4 separate regions of the Homo sapiens genome follow, and regions 1, 2 and 4 are each linked to region 3. The links are contacts of gene promoters, found by promoter capture Hi-C in blood cells and fetal thymus (Javierre and others, 2016). All regions are on one chromosome and are shown on one strand. Each heading gives the region's core, a stretch centred on a gene start or on the middle of the fragment in contact. The rest is flanking DNA. Distances are from core to core; before and after follow the strand shown. Region 1 overlaps GLI1 (GLI family zinc finger 1). Region 2 overlaps KIF5A (kinesin family member 5A). Region 3 holds the start of CTDSP2-AS1 (CTDSP2 antisense RNA 1). Region 4 overlaps DCTN2 (dynactin subunit 2).

Region 1 (2,700 bases), core at 57-2,556, 370 kb after region 3:
GACATTGCTGATGGCTTCTTTGGTTGAACTGGGCCTGGGCAGTGACTTCTGAGAGAGGATGGCCACTTGAATTAAAGACTCCCAAACTGTGAGCAGGCAGAACTCTTGGGGCAGCCCCTGAAGTCGGAAGAGGCAGTTATATCTTCAGGTTGTATCCTGAAGGTTTCTCCACTGGTCCATCTCCATTCTCCTTGTATCTCCTTGGTTTTTTTGTTACCATGTGGAGGAATCCCAGAGTGAACTCTTCCCTGCTCAGAACTTTGAAGGGTTAGTTAGATTGCTATGAAGTGGCAAGCTGCTGCCATATATCCCCTTCCTTGGCCTTTGCTTACAGGGTGATAGCACACTCAGATAAGAATCGCATGACACCCCACAACCTGGGAATTGTGTTTGGACCAACCCTGTTTCGGCCAGAGCAGGAGACATCTGACCCAGCAGCCCATGCTCTCTACCCAGGGCAGCTGGTCCAGCTGATGCTCACCAACTTCACCAGCCTCTTCCCCTGATGCAGGGAAGGAAGAAGAGAAAACATATTTCCGGTCATCTCTGGTGGTGAGAGGCTGGTGTTCTGTTTTGAGGATATCCCTTTAAATCTCCCAAATGACTGTCTCTATCTTCATGAGTGTGACTTGAGGTGTTGGGATGGGTGAGGGAGCTTCTCTAAAGAGGAAAGTGAGTGGATTAACCCCTGCTTCTCTTCTTGTTCCCTGTTATCATTCCTCCCCAACATAATAATACATAAAGTGGCATGGTATTTTTTCTGATGCAGTTCCTTTATTATCAGGAAACAGTGTCATTATCAAATTTCTCCTCAAAACGTATACAGACTATACATAGCCCCCAGCCCATACCTCCCATCCCTGGGGCATCTTGTGCATGGGACTGCAGCTCCCCCAATTTTTCTGGAAGGATAGAAACCCCTTAGGAAATGCGATCTGTGATGGATGAGATTCCCTACTCTTTAGGCACTAGAGTTGAGGAATTCTGTTTCCCCAGGTAGGGATCTCAGTAAGACACTCATGTTGCCCACAGCCATGTTGGGGGGCCCAGAGGGAGGTGGGGTATGTCCAGAGCTGCCCCGCTGATCATGGGAAGGAGGAGGACTCAGCCCCTGGGGCTCATCCAGAATAGCCACAAAGTCCAGCTGAGTGTTGTCAAGATCAAGAGAGTCCAGGGGGTTACATACCTGTCCTTCGGGAGGAGGGTACAAGGCAGGACCCCCTCCTAGCCTGCCCACCTCAGGATGACCACAGCTGGGGTTTGTGCCTCCCACTTTGAGAGGCCCATAGCAAGTGGGCAATGGGGGCAGAAGTCGAGGTGGTGCTGCTGCCCTATGTGAAGCCCTATTTGCCCCCACTACAAAATTTTCATGGCATGGTGAAGGGGTGGGATAGGAACCTGACTTGTGATTGGGCAAGTTGGGTCCAAAGCCAGGTCCATATGTGTTCACTGGAGCTTTAGCACGGCTTGGGCTAACCTGGGAACCCCCCAGAAACTTGGGACTCTGGTAGGAAGGTTCCTGGGCGGGGGCATCTTCCCTGCCCCCACCCTCCCACAGTAGCTCCTGTTGAGATTGAACATAATTACACACAAGCTGAGCCTTGAGCTGCCCTGTGGAATGGGTGGGGGAATCAAAGTCCAGGCAAGGCCTGGGTTCTGAAGGAAGATAATCAGGGGGTGGCTGGGTATAGGGGCCTGACTGGAGATATTGGGGAGGAGAGGGCTGGGGGTAATGGGAAAAGAGAGGCTGTGGATGTGGGGGCCCCTCACTGGGGTGGGCATTGAGGCAGGGTGCCAGTCCTGTGGAGTCAGACCCCACTGGGCACCCCTGTTCTGGCTTGACTTGCACTTGTCCATAATGTTCAAGTCGAGGACACTGGCTGTAGGTTCCACCTAGAGCCTTGGGGCCTGGGTACAGCCCAGAGTGGGAAGGGAACTCACCCCATGTTTCTTGGGTGGGGTCAGGATATGAGGCCTGCTGGGGACAGGGGTTGGGGCCATAGTTGGTGGGTGGACCAGGCCCAAGAGGCAGAGAGCCTGGACCCCTCGCTCCATAAGGCTCAGCTGCTGCCCCTTCAGGTCCCCCATATCCCAGAGTATCAGTAGGTGGGAAGTCCATATAGGGGTTCAGACCACTGCCCACCATGGAGGTCCCAACTTCTGGCTCTTCCTGTAGCCCTCTAGCATCCATGGCAGCATTCTCAGTGATGCTGGGGGGCTGTGGTGAGTAGACAGAGGTTGGGAGGTAAGGATCAAAGTTCTGTCCTCCCCCTGCCACAGTGGGTGGGGTATGGACACAGCCCAGGCTCTTGAACCTCTGGACTCTAGCTGGAGCAGGACGGTCAGCAGCCTGGGCTGGGTCACTGGCCCTCCGGGTGACCCCTGCATTGGGGTTGTATCCTGGATACTCGGCTCGGCTTCTCCAAGGAGGCATGGGAAGACCACCTATCCGATCCAGGCTGGATGCTGCAGTGGGCGAAGTACCACCCCCTCTGGCTGAAGCATATCTTGCCCGAAGCAGGTAGTGCTGGGCAGGCATAAGGCCAGGCAGGGAGGATGCTCCATTCTCTGGTGGGGAGCCAGGGGGGAAAGGAGAGGCCAGGGAGGAGCGGCGGCTGACAGTATAGGCAGAGCTGATGCTGCTGGAGCTGCTGCTGCGGCGTTCAAGAGAGACTGGGGGGCCCACGCGGCGGGACACAG
Region 2 (2,947 bases), core at 407-2,906, 260 kb after region 3:
TGAAACCCTGTCTCTACTAAAAATACAAAATTAGCCAAGCATCATGGCACATGCCTGTAATCCCAGCTACTCAAGAGGCTGAGGCAGGAAATTGCTTGAACCCAGGAGGCGGAGGTTGCAGTGAACCGAGATCACACCACTGGACTCCAGCCTGGGCGACAGAGTGAGACTCCATCTCAAAAAAAAAAAAAAAAAATCCAATTCTGGGCCGGGCTCGGTGGCTCACGCCTGTAATCCCAACACTTTGGGAGGCCGAGGTGGGTGGACTACGAGGTCAGGAGTTCGAGACCAGCCTGGCCAATATGGTGAAACCCTCTCTCTACTAAAAACATAAAAAATTAGCCAGGAGAGGTGGTGTGTGCCTGTAGTCCCAGCTACTCGGGAGGCTGAAGCAGAAGAATTGCTTGAACCTGGGAGGCGGAGGTTGCAGTGAGCTGAGATCACACCACTGCACTCCAGCCTGGGCAACAGAGCAAGACTCCATCTCAAAAAAAAAAAAAAATCCAATTCTGACAGTCCCCCACTTACAAATAAATCTTATAAAGCAACATGATTTTCTTTTGATCTCCTTGATCACCCAGATTATTCTCACATCCACAGATTTGCATATTTCATTCTGAACTCTGTGCCTATGCCCCACCTCTAACTCCTACTGCAAGCACTGCTCTGTTGCTGCTGCTTTTTTTTTTTTTTTTTGAGACAGAGTCTCCCTCTGTCACCCAGGCTGGAGTGCAGTGCCGCATCTCTGCTCACTGCAAGCTCCGCCTCCCAGGTTCACGCCATTCTCCTGCCTCAGCCTCCTGAGTAGCTGGGACTACAGGCGCCCGCCACCATGCCTGGCTAATTTTTTGTATTTTTTTAGTAGAGACAGGGTTTCACTGTGTTAGCCAGGATGGTCTCAATCTCCTGACCTCGCCTCGGCCTCCCAAATTTTTTTTTTTTTTTTTTTGAGACGGAGTTTCACTCTTGTTGCCCAGGCTGGAGTGCAATGGTGCAATCTCGGCTCACTGCAACCTCCGCCTCCAGGTTCAAGCGATTCCCCTGCCTCAGCCACGTGAGTAGCTGGGATTACAGGCATGAGCCACCACACCCGGCTAATTTTATATTTTTAGTAGACACGGAGTTTCTCCATGTTGAACAGGCTGGTCTCGAACTCCTGACCTCAGGTGATCCACCCGCCTCGTCCTCCCAAAGTGCTGGGATTACAGGCGTGAGCCACCATGTACAGCCTCTTTTTTTTTTTTTTTAAGACAAGGTCTGGCTCTGTCACCCAGGCTGGATTGCAGTAGCTCAATCATGTCTCACTGCAGCCTCAACCTCCCATACTCAGGTGATTCTCCCACCTCAGCCTGTCAAGTAGCTGGTACTATAGGTGTGTGCCACCACCCCCAGCTAATCGTTTGTATTTTTTGTAGAGATAGGGTTTCACTATGTCACCCAGGCTGGTCGTGAACTCCTGGGCTCAAGCGATCCGCCTGTCTCAGCCTCCCAAAATGTTGGGATTACAGGCATGAACCACCATGCCTGGCCTCCATTGCTTCTTTATTCAGCACCCGTTAGAATTTAGTTTTGTTTTGTTTTGTTTTTAAGGCAGAGTCTCACTCTATAACCCAGGCTAGAGTGCAGTGGTGTGATCTCAGTTCACTGCAACCTCTACCTCCCAGGTTGAAGCGATTCTCCTGCCTCAGTCTCCTGAGTAGCTGGAATTACAGGTGCACATCACCACGCCTGGCTAATTTTTGTATTTTTAGTAGAGACAGGGTTTCGCCATGTTGGCGAGGTCAGGTCTCGAACTCCTGACCTCAAGTGATCCGCCTGCCTCGGCCTCCCAAAGTGCTGGGATTACAGCGGTGAGCCACTGCGCCCAACCTAGAATGTATCTTTTCAATTGGGTCTATACAAGCCTCTACCTGTCTTCCTGGGTCTAGTTCAAAGGCATGTTTCCTGGCTCTCTGGCTGCCTTTCTCAGTATCTGTGAAGGCCTGGATGGCTCATCTTGCGTCTTCCACTAGTGCCCAGCCTGAACAAGGCTGCTGTCTCTCACCACTCACCAGCTTAATCTCCCCGTTGCCCACAATGACACTGAACTCGCTCAGATCCTTCATCAGCCCGTTCAGCACCTCAGCAATTCGTTTTCGCTGGTGTCCACTGACCTCCTGTAGCCGCTGCAACTCAGACTCCAGGGACAGCATGGTGGCCTGGGGACAGCCCCTCAGGTCATTCCTGTTGCCATCCTCCTGCTCCCTTGCCCAGCCCAGGCAGAGGCCTCTCCCTTCATGCAAGACCCTGAGGGCTGCTATGAAGAGAACACAGGCCCTGCAGAAGAGTCTGAAAGACAGAGGGACTGTGAGGGGAAAGTGCAGTGACAGGGTTGGGGAGGGACTCACAATGCACTGAACAGCAGTGCAGAGGTGCAGCCACCATACAGCCCTGGAAGGATGCAGAGGTCCCCTCGACATGGGAGATGTTCTGTGGTCAGGGAGCTGTTGGACCATTGGCACACCACTTACCACCTTCTGAGACAGCTCATCCACCAGAAGCTGGTTCTGCTGGCTCTTCTCCTCCACCTCCTGGGACTTCTGGTCATAGTTCACAGCCAGCTCCTCCAGGGCCTGCAGCACTTCCTTCACCTCATCCTTAGCGGCATCGTTCTCTGATTGCAGGTGGCTCAGCTCCCGCTGGACCTTCTCGTTGTCTCCTCGGGTGGACACCAGCAGCTTCAAGGGAGAGGAGTGGCATGTGGGAAAGATCACTGCCAGTGACCATTTCTATGGCCTTGGGTCTGGGAAGCTGAGCCCCCACCCTACCCAAAATAAAGAGTTAAGAGGAAGTGGGCTTTAGGTTTCATAGAAATAGGGCAACAGAATGAAGAATGAAGAAGCCCCCAGACTTTAAAATTTGTGCTTTAAGAAAAGCCCCAGCCGGGCGCAGTGGCTCACGCCTGTAA
Region 3 (2,907 bases), core at 103-2,602:
CTCCTTAGGGGGAAGGAGGGGTAACTCCAGGTAGGCAAGTGTGGTTTCCAATCCCTCACAATGATACCTTTGCTCTGGCTGGTGCTACATAGGGCAGGGTCTCCTGCTGAGGCAGGGGCAGGATCCAGTCCTTTGAGTTTTCTTGGATGGCATCTCAGGCTTGTCCCTGCTGCCCTGTGGGCTATTAGATCACTTCCTGACATCCCTCAAGAGTCCTCTGGAGTGGGGCTTGCAGGGCTGAGCCTGCAGCTGACTTGTCTATGAGGAAACGCCTCCTCTGTCTCTGGTCCAGGATCTGCTACTTATGGAGGCCCACCCCAACCCAGCACGTTTTTAAAGTACGTTGGAGCTGCCCAGGAGGGTGTTTTGGCAATACCTCCTTTAGAGGCTGATTCTGAAATCAGCGTGCTTTAGAACTGCCAGAAATCCCCTGCTCCCAAAACTGAGTCCTCTTACCTCTCTAGCTGAGGTCAGAGAACAGATTGCTGAAGGGGCAGAGACAAGAAAGTGTGTGACCTGTGACCCTCGCCCCACAGGTGGCATTAAGGACTCAGGTCTGAAAGAAGAGACAGCCATATAGGGAGCTCTCCTGCCCAGGGAAAGGGAACTAATGGAGACACTGGCTTAGGTAGAGCTGCCCCAGTTGCTGGTGCAGAGAGGGCACCAGCATACAACATGCTGGTATGGGCCAAACAGCATGGCTAAAACTGCTTTTTAATTTTTTAAATTTTATTTATTTATTTATTTATTTTGAGACAGAGTTTTGCTCTGTCCCCCAGGCTGGAGTGCAATGGTGTGATCTCGGCTCACTGCAACCTCCACCTCTTGGATTCAAGTGATTCTCGTGCCTCAGCCTCCGGAGTAGCTGGGATTACAGGAGCTCACTACCATACCCTGCTAATTTTTGCATTTTTAGTAAAGATGGGGTTTCACCATATTGGTCATGCTGGTCTCGAACTTCTGACCTTAAGTGATCCCCACTGCCTTTGCCCCCCAAAGTGTTAAAACTGCTTTTTTCAAAAAATGCCCATGCAGTTAGATACACAGCTACTTTTTGGAACTTCGGGAGCCGGTGCTAAGCTGGGTCCGGCCCTGCCTTGCTTGTTAGCTGTAGAGAACAGTGTCAGTGGCCAGGCATGAAAGCAGTACACCCTCCCCATTGTTTGCAGTCTTTTGTGTGTGGGGGCTGTCTAGGCATCTCACCCTCTTTTGTTCCCTGCCGACTCACCTGCTGGTCCCAGGAGCTCTTCCGTCCACCTGGCACTTTAGGGCATGTCCATAGCCAAGGAACAGATGCCCCTTGCAGAGGACCTGGGAGGACTTCTCTCCATGGGGGAGTCCCAGTCAAATGTGTCTTGGCTGCAGGGTTCAGGCAGCCGTCCAAGAAGGGCCGGAAATGCTCCAAATACTCTCCTTCCTCCAATAGCTGAGAGGAAGGAGGCCCCTCAGAGGGGCCATTTTATAGTGATAGCCAGGCTAAGGCTAAGTCCTTTGCTGTGGGGGATGGGAGGTGGTGGGGAAGGAAGTACTTCTGGGGATGAACCAAAAAAGAAAGCAACTTTCTACCTGAATGGGCTTGTTAAAATCTGATTGTCTCAGAGGTTACCTTCTGCTGAATCGCAGGCAGATGTGTGAGGAGTTCCTTTGCTGGGACACAAAGCTGTGTTGTTGACAAAAGTGGTATCTGGACCTGACTTTCAGGAGAAGATTAAAAACAGTGTTGCCCTGGTCACTCTGGTCTTCGTTTGTGTGTATGTGTGCACGTGTTCACGTGTTTGTACATGTACACTTTTTTTTTTTAAAGACAAAATCTCACTCTGTCACCCAGGCTGGAGTGCAGTGGTGCAATCACGGCTTACCGCAGCCTCAAACTCCTGGGCTCCGGTGATTCTCCCACTTCAGCCTGCCAAGCTGGGACTGCAGGTGCACCTGGCTAATTTTTTTTTGGTAGAACAGGATTTTGCCATGTTGCTCAGGCTGGTCTTGAACTCCTGAGCTGCAGTGATCCAACCGGCCCAGCTTCCCAAAGTGCTGGGATTACAGGCTTGAGCCACCTACCCCGGCCCATGCATAGGGGCAAATAGTGTCCTTACCTGGTACTTCTTGAGAGTAGTGGGGATGAATACCAGGGGAGACAGCGATTTTTGTCTCAAGTGAAACAGTCTTACTTGCTTTTGTTTTTCACAGAATACCCAGTCAGGGAGTTTGTGAGCTGGAAAACAAATTTTGTTGTGGACTTGGGAGAAGGTATAGGGGCTATTTTGACTTTCTGAAACCTGCTCATGATCAGAGCTCTCAGGCACCTTTCCCTCATCTTCTTGGGCTTCATCCACGTGATGATGGTGGGAGGGCTCCTGGTCTGTTGCTGGCCTCCTGGAATGAGGCCCATGATGTTGCCATTTAGTGGTCATCTCCCCTTGGATAATTAATTAAAACAAGCGCAGCATTTAGCTTTAGAGTTAGCACAGTGCCTTACTCTCTAACTTCGTTTATCCTTTCAGTCCTGAGTGAGGGCTTGCTGTTATCCCAGTTTATGGATGAGGAAACTAAGGCTCCAAAAGGCTGTGTGGCTGAGTCAGTAACTGGCAGAGCCTGGACCCCAGCCCTGATGATCCTCAGTGGGGGCATACTCCTCACATCCCCTCTTCTCCTCACACCCCGCCTCAGTAGGAAGACTCGCAGCAGTGAGCTGGATGGCTGGCCTGGTTTCCCTGTCTTCAGCCACCAGCTCACTTTCTTCTTAAGCCAGAGCTGCTTCCCTCATTGGGTCTGTGCTAGTCCTCTCAGACATCTAGCCCCAAACCAAATGTTTGGGGCAGAGAAAGCAGAAGCACATCTGCATCTGGGCAGAAGAGGAGGGCTGGGTGTCCGCAGAGGGTAGCAGGGAATGAAGGAGGGAGAGCAGCT
Region 4 (2,700 bases), core at 87-2,586, 300 kb after region 3:
GGTATATGGTGACCCCAGCTGAAATTTCTTGGCCCCTAAATTTCGCTAGGCTCCCCTGGGGCCCTGTGGTGCAGTGTGTTGGAAGACTGTCATGTAGTGCATGTGACAATTTGCTAATAACAATTTTGTCTTTTTTTTCCCTCCCTCATCCCCATTCCCCCACTCCCTTTCCTTTTAACTCTTTTGATTTTCTCACCTCTGGGGAAACCACAAGGAGCTGGTAAGAAGCCTGACCTTTCATCTGCTTTTTAACGGGGTGTGCTATGATGAGCAGTTGTTTCTCTGTCCTTTAGACTCTACTAAATCTTTCATTCATCTATTCAGTCCCACACCCAGCCTTTTCCTATCTCACAAGTCACTGTAATTATACTGCCCCCAACTCATGCCCCAGATCTTCAAGACACTGCTGGAGTAGGTGCTACTGGAGGACTAGAGTGTGCTCCCGGGCCACAGCCTTGGAGAGGCTCCAGAGGATGCCAGCGCCAGGTAGCCCAACTGGCCCAGGACACTCTCCCACAGCAGGAATGAAAATGCTCTCTGTCCCTGTGACTGTCCAGAACCTCTGAGACTCACCGTCTATGTGTTGACCCTCTTCTACTCCCCGCTTTCCCTACTTAGGAACGTAAATAAGAAAGTAGGTTCCATCTGCATAGTGCCCGCCCATAATAAGGGCTTAACAAATGGTAGCTATGATTAATTTTTTTCCTGGGTCTGTAGGTTATGCCTCCCATTCCTCTTTTTTAAGAGGATTAAACAAAAGAGGATGGGTGGGATTGGCCTGGATTGGGGCTTTCACAGGGAGAAGTGGCATATTCCTGAGTATGAACTTCAGAGAAGATGGTTGTCTATCCTTAGCCTGAGCCCTTCCCAGTTGATAAGAGGCCAGAGATCACACAGCTATTAGATGGGTGGGTGTTCTGGCCGTAACATTTCAGAACAGGTTAAAGAGATAATCATTTGGGACTCAAATGTCTCTCCCCCCGGGCACTTGCATATGGGACATTGAGTCCTTTTGTTTTCCCTTGATCTATAGCTCTTACCCCTCTGCCCAGTAATTCCCTGAGGAAGAGGTAAAGATCAAAGTTGATACTTTGTCCTTTCCTTCCTTCTTCCCTTATTTTTAAAGCTGTCACCCACACTGATTCCTGCTCTAATAGCAGAGCAGAGATGAAGGAAGGAGCTTCCTTCTATCTGCTTTTCTTTCTCAATGATGTCCCACCATGTCCCCCTCACACCCTCTCCCCACATACCTACACACAGGCAGAGATTCTCAGTCCTGGCTGTAGGTTAGAATCACCTGGATATCTGGCCCTACCCCAGAATAATTCATTAGAATCTCTAGAAGTGGGCCCAGGCCTTTTTTTTTTTTTTTTTTTCTTTTCTCTCTCTCTCTTTTTCTTTTTTTGAGACAGGGTCTCACTCTGTTGCCCAGGCTGGAGTGCAGTGGCATGATCTCTGCTCACTGCATCCTCCACCTGCCAGGCTCAAGTGACCCTTCCACCTCAGCCTCCTGAGTAGCTGGGACCACAGGCACGTGCCACAATACCCAGCTATTTTATATTTTTTGTAGAGTTGGGGTTTCCCTATGTTGCCCAGGCTGGTCTTGAACTCCTGAGATCCACCCGCCTTGGCCGAACTTTGGGAGGCCGAGGCGGGTGGATCACTTGGAATTAGGATCCTCCCAAAGTGCTGGGACTACAGACAGGCTTGAGCCACCATTGCCCGGCTGTCTATTTAAAAAAAAAAAAAAATTATAAGTGATTCTAACATGCAGCCTGGGGTGAGAACCATTGTTCTAGGTGAAAGAAGGAAGGCTCATTTTGCCTTCCTCCCATAGAAGGTAGAGATGTCATCCCCAACAGAAAAGGACTCCTGGGTCTCCCTCCTACTTCCATCAGTACTCTGTTGGGAGCTGTCAGGCTTCTGACAATTGAAAAAGGGACATGCAGTCAGGAGTGCTTGGTGCAGTCTTGGTGTTGTCACTGGAATCTGAACAGCATGTAGATATCTAGTAAGGAGGGAACCTCTCTGCTTCAGTTTCTAGGGTGAAGTCTCTTTCACCGCCTACTTGTGTCCCCTGTTTTTGGAAGAGCTTCAGTGCTTAAAGCATAGCAGAGGAGTCAGGGAGAAAAATCAGGTGCTGCAGCGTCTCTGAAGAGATGCTGGTTTATCTCCATTTCAGAGCTTACATGTGGCTCTTGCCCATGGATACTCTTGGCAAGCAGATATTGCCTATGTTTGTTGCTTCTAAGATGTCCCATAAAGATAATCCAGTAAGCCCTTGCCCCTTCTCCCTGTCCCTGAGTTCGCTGGCCTCATGGCAGCCTGGAAATCAGGCTTCTGGTCAGGCCCTCTGTCGGCCTTCTTTTTGTACTAAGAGCTTGTGTCTTACCTTCAACAGGTTTAAAGTCCTAATATTCACACTCAGTGTTAGTGGCCTGATTATCTGCCTTCCCTCCTCTTTCCTTCTAGCAAGGATGGGAGGTTAGCATTAAAATGGACTTGCTCAGCGGGCAAGATTTACTTTTGGGAGGGGGAGGTTAAAAGAGGTCAGGTTGGTTTCTTGCCTTGAGTGCATGGCGTGTGCCAGACAACTGGGAGGGGTAGCATGGGGGGATGGGAAGGCTTATGTACAGAGAGGGTGGGGAGGTTATGCTCCCTCTGCTCCCAGTTGAATGAGGGTGTTAATATTTATACAAC

Evidence for each region. Contacts are between HindIII fragments. The CHiCAGO score rates a contact against its expected background, and 5 or more counts as called.
Region 1: a fragment that was not itself captured here is called in contact with the fragment with the promoter of CTDSP2-AS1 in region 3 in 1 of 17 cell types (non-activated CD4 T cells); the score reaches 5.3 in non-activated CD4 T cells.
Region 2: a contact is called between a fragment that was not itself captured here and the fragment with the promoter of CTDSP2-AS1 in region 3, in 6 of 17 cell types (non-activated CD4 T cells, total CD8 T cells, M0 macrophages and 3 more). The highest score is 7.0, in non-activated CD4 T cells.
Region 4: a fragment that was not itself captured here is called in contact with the fragment with the promoter of CTDSP2-AS1 in region 3 in 2 of 17 cell types (naive CD4 T cells and naive CD8 T cells); the score reaches 5.6 in naive CD4 T cells.

Annotation. Positions count from the first base shown.
Region 1 is chr12:57,470,323-57,473,022 of GRCh38, reverse strand. GLI1 (GLI family zinc finger 1) reads right to left here. Exons shown (of 12, transcript NM_005269.3): 12 at 755-2,700. The coding sequence ends at 962. It overlaps ARHGAP9 (Rho GTPase activating protein 9), which reads left to right. Exons shown (of 18, transcript NM_032496.4): 18 at 335-754. The coding sequence ends at 506. Among named protein-coding and RNA genes, the nearest start is that of ARHGAP9, 8.2 kb to the left of the region's middle. The HindIII fragment of the contact is 4,786 bases long and covers 1-2,700 here.
Region 2 is chr12:57,571,831-57,574,777 of GRCh38, reverse strand. It overlaps KIF5A (kinesin family member 5A), which reads right to left. Exons shown (of 29, transcript NM_004984.4): 14 at 2,511-2,717; 15 at 2,052-2,198. Among named protein-coding and RNA genes, the nearest start is that of PIP4K2C, 18 kb to the left of the region's middle. The HindIII fragment of the contact is 3,828 bases long and covers 1-2,947 here.
Region 3 is chr12:57,835,536-57,838,442 of GRCh38, reverse strand. It overlaps CTDSP2-AS1 (CTDSP2 antisense RNA 1), which reads right to left and starts at 1,352. Exons shown (of 2, transcript NR_188077.1): 1 at 1,229-1,352. The region is part of intron 1 of CTDSP2 (CTD small phosphatase 2); the gene reads left to right. RefSeq lists enhancers at 13-92, 153-262, 1-463, 1,053-1,122. The HindIII fragment of the contact is 9,495 bases long and covers 1-2,907 here.
Region 4 is chr12:57,536,039-57,538,738 of GRCh38, reverse strand. All of the region lies in intron 2 of DCTN2 (dynactin subunit 2), which reads left to right. Among named protein-coding and RNA genes, the nearest start is that of DCTN2, 9.8 kb to the left of the region's middle. The HindIII fragment of the contact is 2,781 bases long and covers 1-2,700 here.